2 separate regions of the Homo sapiens genome follow, and region 2 is linked to region 1. Evidence: promoter capture Hi-C in human tissues and cell types (Jung and others, 2019). All regions are on one chromosome and are shown on one strand. The core of a region is centred on a gene start or on the middle of the fragment in contact, and the rest is flanking DNA. Distances in the headings are between cores, read along the strand shown.

Region 1 (5,830 bases), core at 2,241-4,740:
GCAGGACCCTCAAGGAGCCTCCTCAAGGCATATCTGACCCCGTCCCATTAAACCTCCAGTGGCTCCCACGGACCAAAGGAGATGGTCCCAGCATGCTGGCCCGGCCTCTGCCCATGATGGCCCACCTCTCCCCCAACACACACCTCCCAGCGGCTGTTTCTTGCCCCTAGGCCTTTGCTCCTGCCATCCTCTCTGCCTCCAATGCCATCTCTCTGGGCTCAGCTCAAGAAATGCCTCCTCCAGGGAACCTTCCTAGAATACCAGGCTGTGTGAGATGCCCTTTCTGGCTCTCACTCAACAGAATAGGCCAAAAGTCGGTGTTCATTTGTCTGTTTCCCCCACTAGACTGTGAGATCTCAATCATGTAAGTGAGCCCTAAGCGAGGTAGGGTGAAAGGAGTGGTCTAGCCCTGAGGCCAAGGGCAGGGCTGGGGTGCGGCTCACGTAGTCAGCCAGGAAAGGAATGCCATGAGGGAAGCGCTTGGGATCCGGCATCAGGCGGCCACTGGCATCGCGACCACCGATCCAGCAGTCATCAATGTTGAGGTATGTGTAGCCCATGTCCCGCCATCCATCCTGTGCCATCCGGTCAGCCATCTCCATGAAGAGCTGTTCACTAGTGAGGGGCAGAGGGATGGGGTAGCTCAGGGACCCAGCCCGGCCCTCACCCACACCCTGCCTCAGCTCTGATTGAATCTGGGCTATAAAAACCATGACCTTGCTGAGCCCTAAGCCAGGTATCAGTGTAAATGACCACCAGAGATTGTGCGATGAGCCATAAGCAAGCTGGCTTGAAAGGAGTGGCTGGCCCCAGGCTAAAAGGCAGGACTGGGTCAGGGGAAGTACAGGGGGCCTGGCCTGACCTTCTAAGAGTTATCTCAGGGGCTGGGTCCATGTAAGGTCCCTGCCTCGTGACCAGGTTGGGGCCTGAGAGTCCCTGCAGAGGCTCCAGACAGGTCATGGGGCTAGGTGTCAGACAGTCCGAGTGACTTCTGGCTGCAGTCTCTGGGATGGAGAACTCTGACCTTGCCCTCTTTTCTAGTGGACTCTCCACTTCCTGCCCCCGAATCTGCAGGGCCCTGGGCAAGGCTCATCAGGTGAGTGTGGACCTTACTCACCTTATGCAGTTCTTTGGGTCCTCATCACAGTTAATGTTGCAGCGGAAGCGTTCCCAGGCCAGCCAGCCCATGGGTGGTGTCTGCAGGAGCCCATTGTCCAGCATCAGCACCTGGGCCACATGTCCCAGCAAGAGCACTAGGGGGCAAGGGAGGAGGGGATGGTGACTATCAGTTGCCCCCACAGCTCCAGCCCTCATCCCACCCCATCTGTATGTTGCTCAGCCCTACAGAGGCTGCCTGCCTATATATAAGGGAAACTGGACTCCTGGGTTTAGGGTAGAATTGGCTCTTCCTGCAATGGCTGGCTCTTGCAAAGCAGTAAGTGGGAGGATGGTGCCTGGGCCAGGCAGTGGCTTGAGGTCTGGCCGTCACCACAGCATTGCTGGAATTAGCAAAACTAACACCTTATGTCCTAACCTTCCTATAACCCCCATCAGCTCCTCCCATCCCATATATAGAACTTAACAGTACAGATGCTCCTAGGCCTACCACGGAACTACGTTCTCATAAGCCCAGTGTAAGTTGAAAATATCACATCAGCCAGATGCAGTGGCTCATGCCTGTAATCCCAACGCTCTGGAAGGCCGAGGCGAGTGGATCACTTGAGGTCAGGCCAACATGGTGAAACCTTGTCTCTACTAAAAATTCAAAAACTTAGCCAGGCGTGGTGGCATGCGCTGTACTCGGGAGGCTGAGGCAAGAGGATCACTTGAACCCCAGAGGCGGAGGCTGCAGTGAGCTGAGATCGTGCCACTGAACTCTAGCCTGGGCTGTGACAGTGCGAGACCCCATCCCAAAATAATAAAAAAGAAAATATTATGTCAAAAATGTACTTAATACACCTAACCTGGCAAACATCATAGCTGAGCCTAGCCTACCTTAAAAATGTGGACAGGCCAGGCACGGTGGCTCACTCCTGTAATTCCAGCACTTTGGGAGGCCGAGGTGGGCGGATCACCGTAAGTCAGGGGTTCAAGACCAGCTTGGGCAATATGGTGAAACCCTGTCTCTACTAAAACTACAAAAAAATACCGGGGTGAGGTGGTGAGTGCCTGTAATCCCAGCTACTTAGGAGGCTGAGCAGGAGACTTGCTTGAACCTGGGAGATGGAGGTTGCAGTGAGCCGAGATCGCGCCACTCTACTCCACTCCAGCCTGGGTGACAGAGTGAGACTCCGTCTCAAAAAAAAAAAAAAAAAAAAAGTGCGACAACGCACATTAGCCTACAGCTGGCCAAAATCATCTAACACAAAGCCTATTTTATAATAAATTGTTGAATATTTCATGCAATTTACTGAATACTGAAACACAGGTTGTATACGTACTGTGGTTTCTACTGAATGTGCGTCGCTTTCACACCACAGTAAAGTTGAAAAATCGTTAAGTCGGGACCATTGGCCAGACTCCAGGTCTCCTGAGCCCCAGTCCAGAGCTCTTTGCTCTCTACCACAGACCCTCAAGAGGCCTCAGAGAGGCTTAAGAAGTAAGCCAGCCAGGATGGGCACCCAATCAGCTCACCTAAGTGAGACCTTTCCCCCTCGGGCCTCAGTTTCCTTATCTGTAATATGGAGTTACTGTAGGGACTGTACAGGCGGTTCTCCGCACATGCTGATATCCATCAGTTAGGGCCTCTGTGCTTGAGGGAGAGGAAGTGAGAAAGGAAGGGCCCCTTTGAAGGAGAAATGATTCCCGTATGGGGAAGCATCTCCTCCCTTCCTGCCCAGCTCTAAGTAAAAGAGAGAGGAACCTGTCTCTCCACATACCCACATTAGGGAAGAAGGGCCAAAGCACTCCTTGTAGCACTCACCCCTACCCTTCCAAGCCACCCCAGCCGGTGTAGGTACCTGTCTTCAGCAGCATCGCTCTGGACTCAGCTTCCGAGGACCTGACCAGATCTGGTCTGCGTGTATCAGCTGTATGTGTTGGGCTCTGGAAGCTAAGAAACGTCTGAAAAGCACTGGGGTCACGGCTGCCTGGCTAGCTCGGCCGCCCTCAACCTTAGGCGTGGATCGTACACTCGGTCCCCAAGTTGCCCGCCCCATCCCCAGCCATCACTTCCCGGAGCTTCAGTTCTTCCTTCAGAAATACGAAACAACGTGTCTTGGATGTCAGACCTCACACCCTCTGCAGTGCTGGGAGTCCCGAGGGCCTACGGGCCGCCTTCGGCCCCGCCCGGGCTCAGAAAAAGGCAGCCACTGGCTTAAGGTCACCAAGAAAGAGCGGAGGGGCGGGGCTGCGGCCAGGCTCCGGACTTCCAGCCGGGTCCGGGTTCCCGCCCTGGGCTCCCCAAAACCGCAGAGCCCCCTCCCACCGCACTTATCCTACCGAAGCGTTCAGACCTGCCGCCGCTTCTGACTCGAATCCGGTAACCTGATAAGTCCGAAGCGTTCCAGTGAGGGCGGGGCCTCACGAAGGCAACCCTTCGCGCAACCTATCAGAATCCCCCCTAGCAACGCTGTGCCCCGCCCATATGGGTCCGGCCTCCCAGCCTCCCTAAGCCCTTCCCCACTGGGCTCCCGCCCTGCGTGCTAGCGAGGCAGGCATTGGCAGAACGGACTCGGGGCTGTCCTTCGTGGCCCGGACCCCGCGAGGCCTGTCCTTCCACCTCTGTGGGGACCAAGAGGGCAAGGATCGTGCCAGGCTCACCGTGGGCGCTCAGTAAGCGGCCGTGCAGAGGACGGTTGAGGGCTTTGTGCAGAGGAAATGAGAGACTGCTCTGAAGCAAGGCCCGCCTAGTGAGCTGCTAGGAAAATGGAAGTCTGGGATTAATCGTCTCTACAAGGAGGGTGCGTGGGAGGCACCAAAGCAGGCGGTCACAGCTCCCGCAAAGGCAGCCGGCTCTCCTTCCCCGCCTGACGCTCAGGGACTACTCGCACAGACTGGGCTACTTCCTTCTTCATTCATTCATCAAGTATTTATTGAGAAACTGCTAAGTGCCAAATGCTTTGTTCTGGGCATTGTAGGGGCAGAAAGGTGTGATATTTTCCCTTACTCATCCCAAAGGTCACAGCGGACACTCCTACAAATAAAATATAGGTTAGCAAGAGAAAAGCATAATAGATTGATTTACTCAATGTTTTATGTGACTTGAGAGCCTTCAGGAATGAAGACACAAATACTCAGGGAAATCTTTATTTTTATGTCTCGGTTTGATGAAGAATGGACAGCCCTGGCCGGGTCTGGTGGCTCATGCCTGTAATCCCAGCACTTTGGAAGGCTGAGGCAGGGGGATCGCTTGAGGCCAGACATTTAAGGACAGTCTGGGCAACATAGTGAGACCCTGTCTCTACAAAAAATTAAAAAGCCAGGCAGGTGCCTGTGGTCCCAGCTACTCGGGAGGCTGAGGTGGGAGGATTGCTTGAGTCCAGGAGGTCGAGGTTGCAGTGAGCTGTGATTGTGTCACTGTACTCCAGCCCGGGCAACAGAAAAAAAAAAAAAGGAATAAGGAATGGACAACTGTGTATAAACGCGATTAGACAAAAGGGAATGATTTAATGTTAATAGCTGAGTGTGGAAACCCAGCAATGTCTGTTCAGATTCGGATTCTTCTTGTTCTCTCTGTGTGGCATTCCCTCCTGCTGGGAGGAGGGCAGGACCCCTTCTGGAATGAGAGTCTTATGACCTAGTATCAGGCAAGGTAGATCAGAGAATTCCTTTATGGCCAGGCCCGACACAGAAAGGTGGGGGATGTTTCCAGTAATATTTGTAGTTACTTTTTTTTCTTTTTTTTTTTCTTTTGAGACAGAGTCTCCCTCTGTCACCAGGCTGGAGTGCAGTGGCGCGATCTCTGCTCACTGCAACCTCCGCCGCCCAGGTTCAAGCGATTCTCCTGCCTCAGCCTCCCAAGTAGTTGGGACTACAGGCGCACGCCACCATGCCCAGCTAATTTTTGTATTTTTAGTAGAGATGGGGTTTCACCATGTTGGCCAGGATGGTCTTGATCTCTTGACCTCGTGATCCGCCCACCTCAGCCTCCCAAAGTGCTGGGATTACAGGCATGAGCCACTGTGCCCAGCCAATATTTGTAGTTGCTATAACTCACCTTAGGGAGGAGGATTTTTAGTTTCTATGGCCTGCCTTGCAGGAGAAAAACAGGAGAAAGAAGGGGGGCAGGAGAAGGTCAGAGAGATACTTTGCTTCTGAGGCTCTTCCAGTGTCCTTTGGTTCAAAGTACTCAGCATGCCCAAGTGCCATATTTTTAGGCATCGCTTTCTGAGCCCCAACAGCACCTTCACTCAGATGGCCACTGGGTGTCTCAAACATAACCCAGACCAAGCACCGGCCACTTTCCACATCTCAGATAATGACAACTCTCCTAGGTGCTCAAGCCAAAACTGTGCAGTCCTGCCTGCTCTTTCCCTCACTCCCCACATCCAACTCCTCAGCAAATCCTGTGTTCTCTACCTTCAACAGCCATTCTAATTCTGGCTGCCTCTCCCTCCCCGCTCTTGCCGCGTTTGTGACATCTCGCCTGGATAGTGGCAGCAGGCTCCTCACTGGTCTCCAGCCTCCACTGACATTGATTCTCACCACAGAAGCCAGAGTATGCCTTGAAATCGCTCAGGTCCCTCCTCACAGCCCTGTCTAGAGTAACAGCCCTCCCAGATTTACAGAGCCCCATCCCACCCCTTCTACCCCCACCTCCTACTGTCTGCCCCTCCCCAGGCCTCCCAGCCTCACTGGCCTTCTTGCAGGTCCTCAAGCACAACAGGCC
Region 2 (5,830 bases), core at 1,741-4,240, 180 kb after region 1:
AAATAAAAAAAAGAACTGTCTCTTTCAGAATTATGGCCTAAACCCGTCTGAAACAACTATTCAAGAAGTCTTTGGGAGAGCTAACACCTACAAACATAAACTTCGGTAATATTTTATAAAATATTCTTAAAAATCACCTTTATCCACACACAAGACAGTTTTAAAAGCTTTGGAGACTGAGTCCAGCTCTGTCGCCAGGCTGGAGTGCAGTGGCACATCTCGACTCACTGCAACCTCCACCTCCCAGGTTTAAGCGATTCTCCCGCCTCAGCCTCCCAAGTAGCTGGGATTACAGGCACGCACCACCATGCCCAGCTAATTTTTGTATTTTTAGTAGAGACGGGGCTTCACCTTGTTGGCCAGGATGGTCTTAATTTCCTGACCTCATGATCCGCTGCTCACCTCGGCCTCCCAAAATGTTGGGATTACAGGTGTGAGCCACGGTGCCCAGCCTTTAAAAGCTTTTTTAACTGAAACACTAGAGTAACAATCTTGGCATTTTTAAACGTATATAATTATCCCTATATATAAAACTATTTTAACAAAAATAACTATTTTCATACAACCATTTTAACTCTAGAATAAAAATACTGTTATAGTGAGATTTTTTCAAATATTTAATTTAGTAGAGTCAAATGTTTAACAAAAATAAAATATTATGAAGTATATAGTATATATTTTAATAAAAGGCTAATAAACTGAATCAGGTCAATAAGAGAAGCAAAATACTGGTTTATAAAACTAAGGCCTTCAAGTGACAGGGGGCCATAGGAAAAAAACAACAAAACAAAAACTAAGGCTTTATTCATTTATAAGTGGCAAAAGAAAAAATTTCCTATTTCCCTATTCCCTAATGATTTAATGTAAACTAAAGCAAAGAGAATGCATTAGTTCACTCTTCCTTAGAAACCTACACCATCTACTAATTTGCTAATGAAATCAGATACATGAGTTCTACATGATCAGTGTTGTGACTTCACATTAGTAGAGACGCTACTTGAGTTGCACTGTCACTGGGTTCCAGAAAGAGAATTTCCTAACGAATCACTAAGAAAGCTTCTTCAACAGATACAGGACGGGCTAGTATCAAAATATAGAAAAAAAAATAAAGTAGAGATAATGCTTTGTCTGTTGAAAAATATTTATTAAACTTCTCTAAAAGGGATTACATAAATATATTATCTCAACTACTATAATTAGATGTCAATTCCAATTCCTTAGTAATATTTTCAAGATTTACCCCTTAAATATAGGCGTATGAAAAACCAAAAGCATCAACAAAAGTTTTATTTATATAAAAAGATTTATGCTGGAATGTTAAAATCTAATATTTTGATTTTGAAAGCAAGTTGATTTTTTAAAAACCCTGAAAACAGTAGAGTGAACTGGCATTCCTTGAAAAGCTGAACAAAATAAGTTTAGTAAAAACAAGTAATAAATTTATTAATTCAGAAAGGATCCTGAACCATGAACCAAAGAGAAAAAAGTAACTGAAGAGGCCGGGCATGGTGGCTCATGCCTGTAATCCCAGCACTTTGGGAGGCCAGGCAGGAGAATCACCTGAGGTCAGGAGTTTGAGACCAGCCTGACCAACATGGAGAAACCCTGTCTCTACTAAAAATACAAAATTAGCCGGGTGTAGTGGCGCATGCCTGTAATCTCAGCTACTTGGGAGGCTGAGGCAGGAAAATCGCTTGAACCCGGGAGGCGGAGGTTGCGGTGAGCTGAGATCGTGCCATTGCACTCCAGCCTGGGCAACAAGAGCAAAACTCCCTTTCAAAAAAAAAAAAAAAAAAAAAAAGTAACTGAAGCTTCCACAGCATATTCCTTTGAGAGCTGGCAGCGAAATTTTATTTACTGATTCACTCAAAAATATCTGCTAAGCATTAGCTACATATCAAGCACTGTTCTAGATGCTGGGAATATGATGGGCAACAGACAAGTCCTTGCCCTCACACAGCAGACTATTCTCCCAGGTAGATCCCAGGATGGTACTTCCCAGCTCCACTCCACTTTCTTTTTCTTTGTTTCTATAATCCAAAACTAAACTCTTCCTCTTCAAATGGCCACAAACTTATCCTGCAAGTTATATTCCAGCTCATTTAAATTAAACATTCACACAGGGTACAGGTTAAGGGCACAGAGTCCAGAGCCAGGGTGCCTGTGGTATCATGATATATACTGGGTATTGTCCAGCCCTTGTAACAGTGTTTTGTTATAATATTGGGTATGTTAAGGCCTGGGGAAACAATCTCTCACCTGTCCTCCATTCACCTGCCCTAAGGCAGGACTCTAATCCTTTCCCACCTCTCAGACTGTGGCTCTTAAGACCCTCCTCAGAGGGCGTCCAGCCCTATACCCTGGGAGAAGAAATTGACATCAGGAAACTTCCATAAAAATCCAAAAGGAGCTGGTCCCAGCACTTTGAGAGGCCGTGACAGGCAGATCACAGGGTCAGCAGATCGAGAATATCTTCACCAACACAGTGAAACCCCGTCTCTACTAAAAATACAAAAATTAGCCGCGGGTGGAGGCGGGCGCCTGTAGTCCCAAATACTCTGGAGGCTGAGGCAGGAGAATGGCGTGAACCTGGGAGGCAGAGCTTGAGAAGAGATGGCACCACTGCACTCCAGCCTGGGTGACACAGCAAGACTCCGTCTCAAAAAAAAAAAAAAAAAAAAGGTAGAGGAAAAACATGATTAGAGGTGAGAGTTTTTCCCAATTCCCAATCCTGGCTCTGCTACTTAATAGTTGGGTGACCTTGGGCAAGTCACTCAACCTCCGTTATTCAGTTTTCTCGTTTGAAAAACAGAGGTAATAACACTATCTCCTAACTTTTTTGTCAAATGTTTAGAACAAGTCCTGGCCCTTGGAATTTATTGTTTATATAAAAATATTCACAATGTTGGCTGGGCATGGTGCTCATGCCTGTAATCCCAGCACTTTGGGAGGCCAAGGCGGGCGGATCACGAGGTCAGGAAATCGAGACCATCTTGACCAACATGGTAAAACCCCGTCTCTACTAAAAATACCAAAAAAAAGTAGCCGGGCTTGGTGGTGCGTGCCTGTAGTCCCAGCTAGTTGGGAGGCTAAGGCAGGGGCATCACTTGAACCCGGGAGGAGGAGACTGCCATGAGCTGAGATCGCGCCACTGCACTCCAACCTGGCAACAGAGTGAGACTTCATCTCAAACAACAACAACAACAACAACAACAACAACAACAACAACAAAACCACATTATTTATTGTTATAAATGTTTGGGTAAATAAAATATGCTTGCCGACCTGTTTTGGAATCAACATGGGTTGATGCCAAAATTTCCTGTAAATCCATTTTATTTAAACCAATTGCTAAATTTTACAGATCCTTCTTATGCAGACTAGGGCTTTGGGCATGAGAAAATCAGAACAGTAAGAGGCCAAGATGATCAATTCATCATCTGTTTCCGGCCCTCCCCTCTCCTTCCCACCACCATCTCTCCTCAGTCAGAACAACGCCCCCAACCATGTATTCACACCTCTCTTCACAAAACTTTGTTCCATTTATGAGACTCAAGTGCCCCAGCCCCAGGTTCAAAGCTATTCCCACCTTGCTCTCATACTATTAGGCCCACGCTCCCTTCTGACCTTCCCCTCTGTCATCTCTAGGCCCTTAGCCTAAGGGCCCAGGGTTTGATTGATAATATGCTACATACTTTTGAGCCTTGGTTCCCAAAAGACCTCTCTTAGGAATGCTCTTTCTCCACTCTTCCACTTGTCTCTCTCTCTCGTCCATCCTTCAAGGTCTACCCAAATGCTCCCTCCTCTACCGGCTTCTCCAATATTCTTCCCATACTTGATCAGGAGGGAGCAGCCTCTTGCCTAGTTCTCCCCAGCACTCCAGCTACACCACTATTACAGCCTTATCAATCATTCATACGTTTGATAAATGTTAATTTTCCATATTGGACTCTCCCACAGACCCTGAACTCTAAGGAAAAGTGAAGTGTTTTATTTGATTTTTGTGTGTGTGTGCCTAGCATGGCAACTACTTAGCAAACTTGGCTGAACAGAAATTTTCTTTTTTCTTTTATTTTCTCTGATGTGTTTCATTCCCATAGGCTTCATTTGGCCTGTGTCCCTTATCTTTAGGGGAAGCCAACTTTCAGCACATGCGCTAGCCAATGTAGCAAAGTTTTTTTTTTTTTTTTAAAGAGACATTTAACAAATTATGCAGGCTGTGATGTCCTTCATTCCAGCTCAAATTTCTCCTACTGAATATGCTAGAACTTAAATCCACTTCCACGAAGACTTTCAACAAGAGAAGATGAAAATCCTATTCCTGCTATATTTAAACTCACATCTACTAGAAAAACAAAAAACAAAAAACAAAAAAGTAGCATTAAGTTCAATGCATAGTGTATCTTTTCATTTACATCTGTTTAGTAATGTACAGGTACTGGTAAATCTGTTTAGGTTCATTTACACTGACTGTATGTTGTGTTTATAGGAGTCATCTGGCTGGAATCTGGCAGGCATGTTCTCTACACTTCTGCCATGGAGTAACAATTCTATTTTATTGTTCTAAAACTCTCCAGGAGCCAGGCACAGTGGCTGATGCCTGTAATCCCAGCACTTTGGAAGGCCTAGGCAAGAAGATTGCTTGAGGCCAGGAGTTCAAAATCAGCCTGGTCAACATAGAGAGACCCCAATCTCTACAAAAGAAAATAAAATTAGCAGGGTGTGGTGGCATGTGCCTGTAGTCGCAGATACTCAGGAGGCCGAGGAAGGAAGATCATTTGAGTCCAGGAACTCAAGGCTGCAGTGCGCCATGACTGTATCACCACACTCCAGCCTGGGTGACAGTGCAACATCCTGTCTCAAAAATTAAAATAAAACCCTCCAGGAGAAATACCCAGCATTCCTTACAGGGCAGGCGGTTCTCTGGGTTCTTCACCTAAACCGCTAATATTCCATCTGACCCTGTCTGCTATGGTTTTCCTGCTTATATTTTCTCTGGATTTTTTCCCCTATTCTTTACTGATTTTAGTTACTCTTAGAAGAGCTTTGCAAGTTTTCTACAACAAATCCAAATTCAACATTACTTTAATAGAATTATGTGAACAGGACACAAAGACATAGATTAATAAGACATGGTGATCACCTAAGAATATACAAATTTGCGATGAAACAGACACATTCTATTTTAACTCTAATATACGGCTAGAGATGGGAAGGAGGGAGAAGTATTAGAGAGCAGAGGCTCAGAGGCAAAATGGTACATTCTTTCTCAATGCACTGGCAGGCAACAATGCAGATGATGGGGCTATAAAAGCAAAACACAGCCCTGACTATAAGGACCTTAGAGCCTAGTGAAATGGTGTTTGAAAATATTCTGCAAGTCTTTTTTCAGCAAAAATCTTATGTTGATATACCCAAAAGATAAGAGAGATGATGAGCTGCTCTGGCTGGAGTTGAGAAGAGGATGACCCTCACTTCTACCCCAGCCAGGCCACCTGTTTCCCAAAATGCCTCTGCAGACCTGGGGGAGCCCAGCACGGAAGAGATGAGAGTGCCCCCCTGCCGCCTTTCTTCCATCTTATTCTGTTTTGATATAACACTTAGCACACTGCCACCTAACTATACAGCTAGTGCTACATGCATATTTTTTAAATAAAATGTGAGGGCTCTGAAATAATTTACAAGTCACTGGTCTAATAAATGGGATTGCTCTAATATATGGGGAACAGTGGAATTGCCAGACACAAGGCACAAAAAGTTGTGTCCAAATCACTGGAATCCAAAACTAGACAAAGGATTATAAAGGTCTGACCAGTTTCTCTAAAATCCC

What was found. Contacts are between HindIII fragments. The study calls those that stand out against the background at their distance.
Region 2: a fragment that was not itself captured here is called in contact with the fragment with the promoter of NAGA in region 1 in 1 of the 25 tissues and cell types used here (dorsolateral prefrontal cortex).

What each region holds. Positions count from the first base shown.
Region 1 is chr22:42,067,322-42,073,151 of GRCh38, forward strand. NAGA (alpha-N-acetylgalactosaminidase) reads right to left here and starts at 3,491. Exons shown (of 9, transcript NM_000262.3): 1 at 2,961-3,491; 2 at 1,118-1,253; 3 at 444-615. The coding sequence starts at 2,976. RefSeq lists enhancers at 1-792, 1-526, 527-1,396, 3,752-3,801 and a silencer at 3,272-3,571. The HindIII fragment of the contact is 6,054 bases long and covers 2,008-5,830 here.
Region 2 is chr22:42,252,299-42,258,128 of GRCh38, forward strand. The region is part of intron 1 of TCF20 (transcription factor 20); the gene reads right to left. Among named protein-coding and RNA genes, the nearest start is that of TCF20, 15 kb to the right of the region's middle. The HindIII fragment of the contact is 7,259 bases long and covers 1-5,830 here.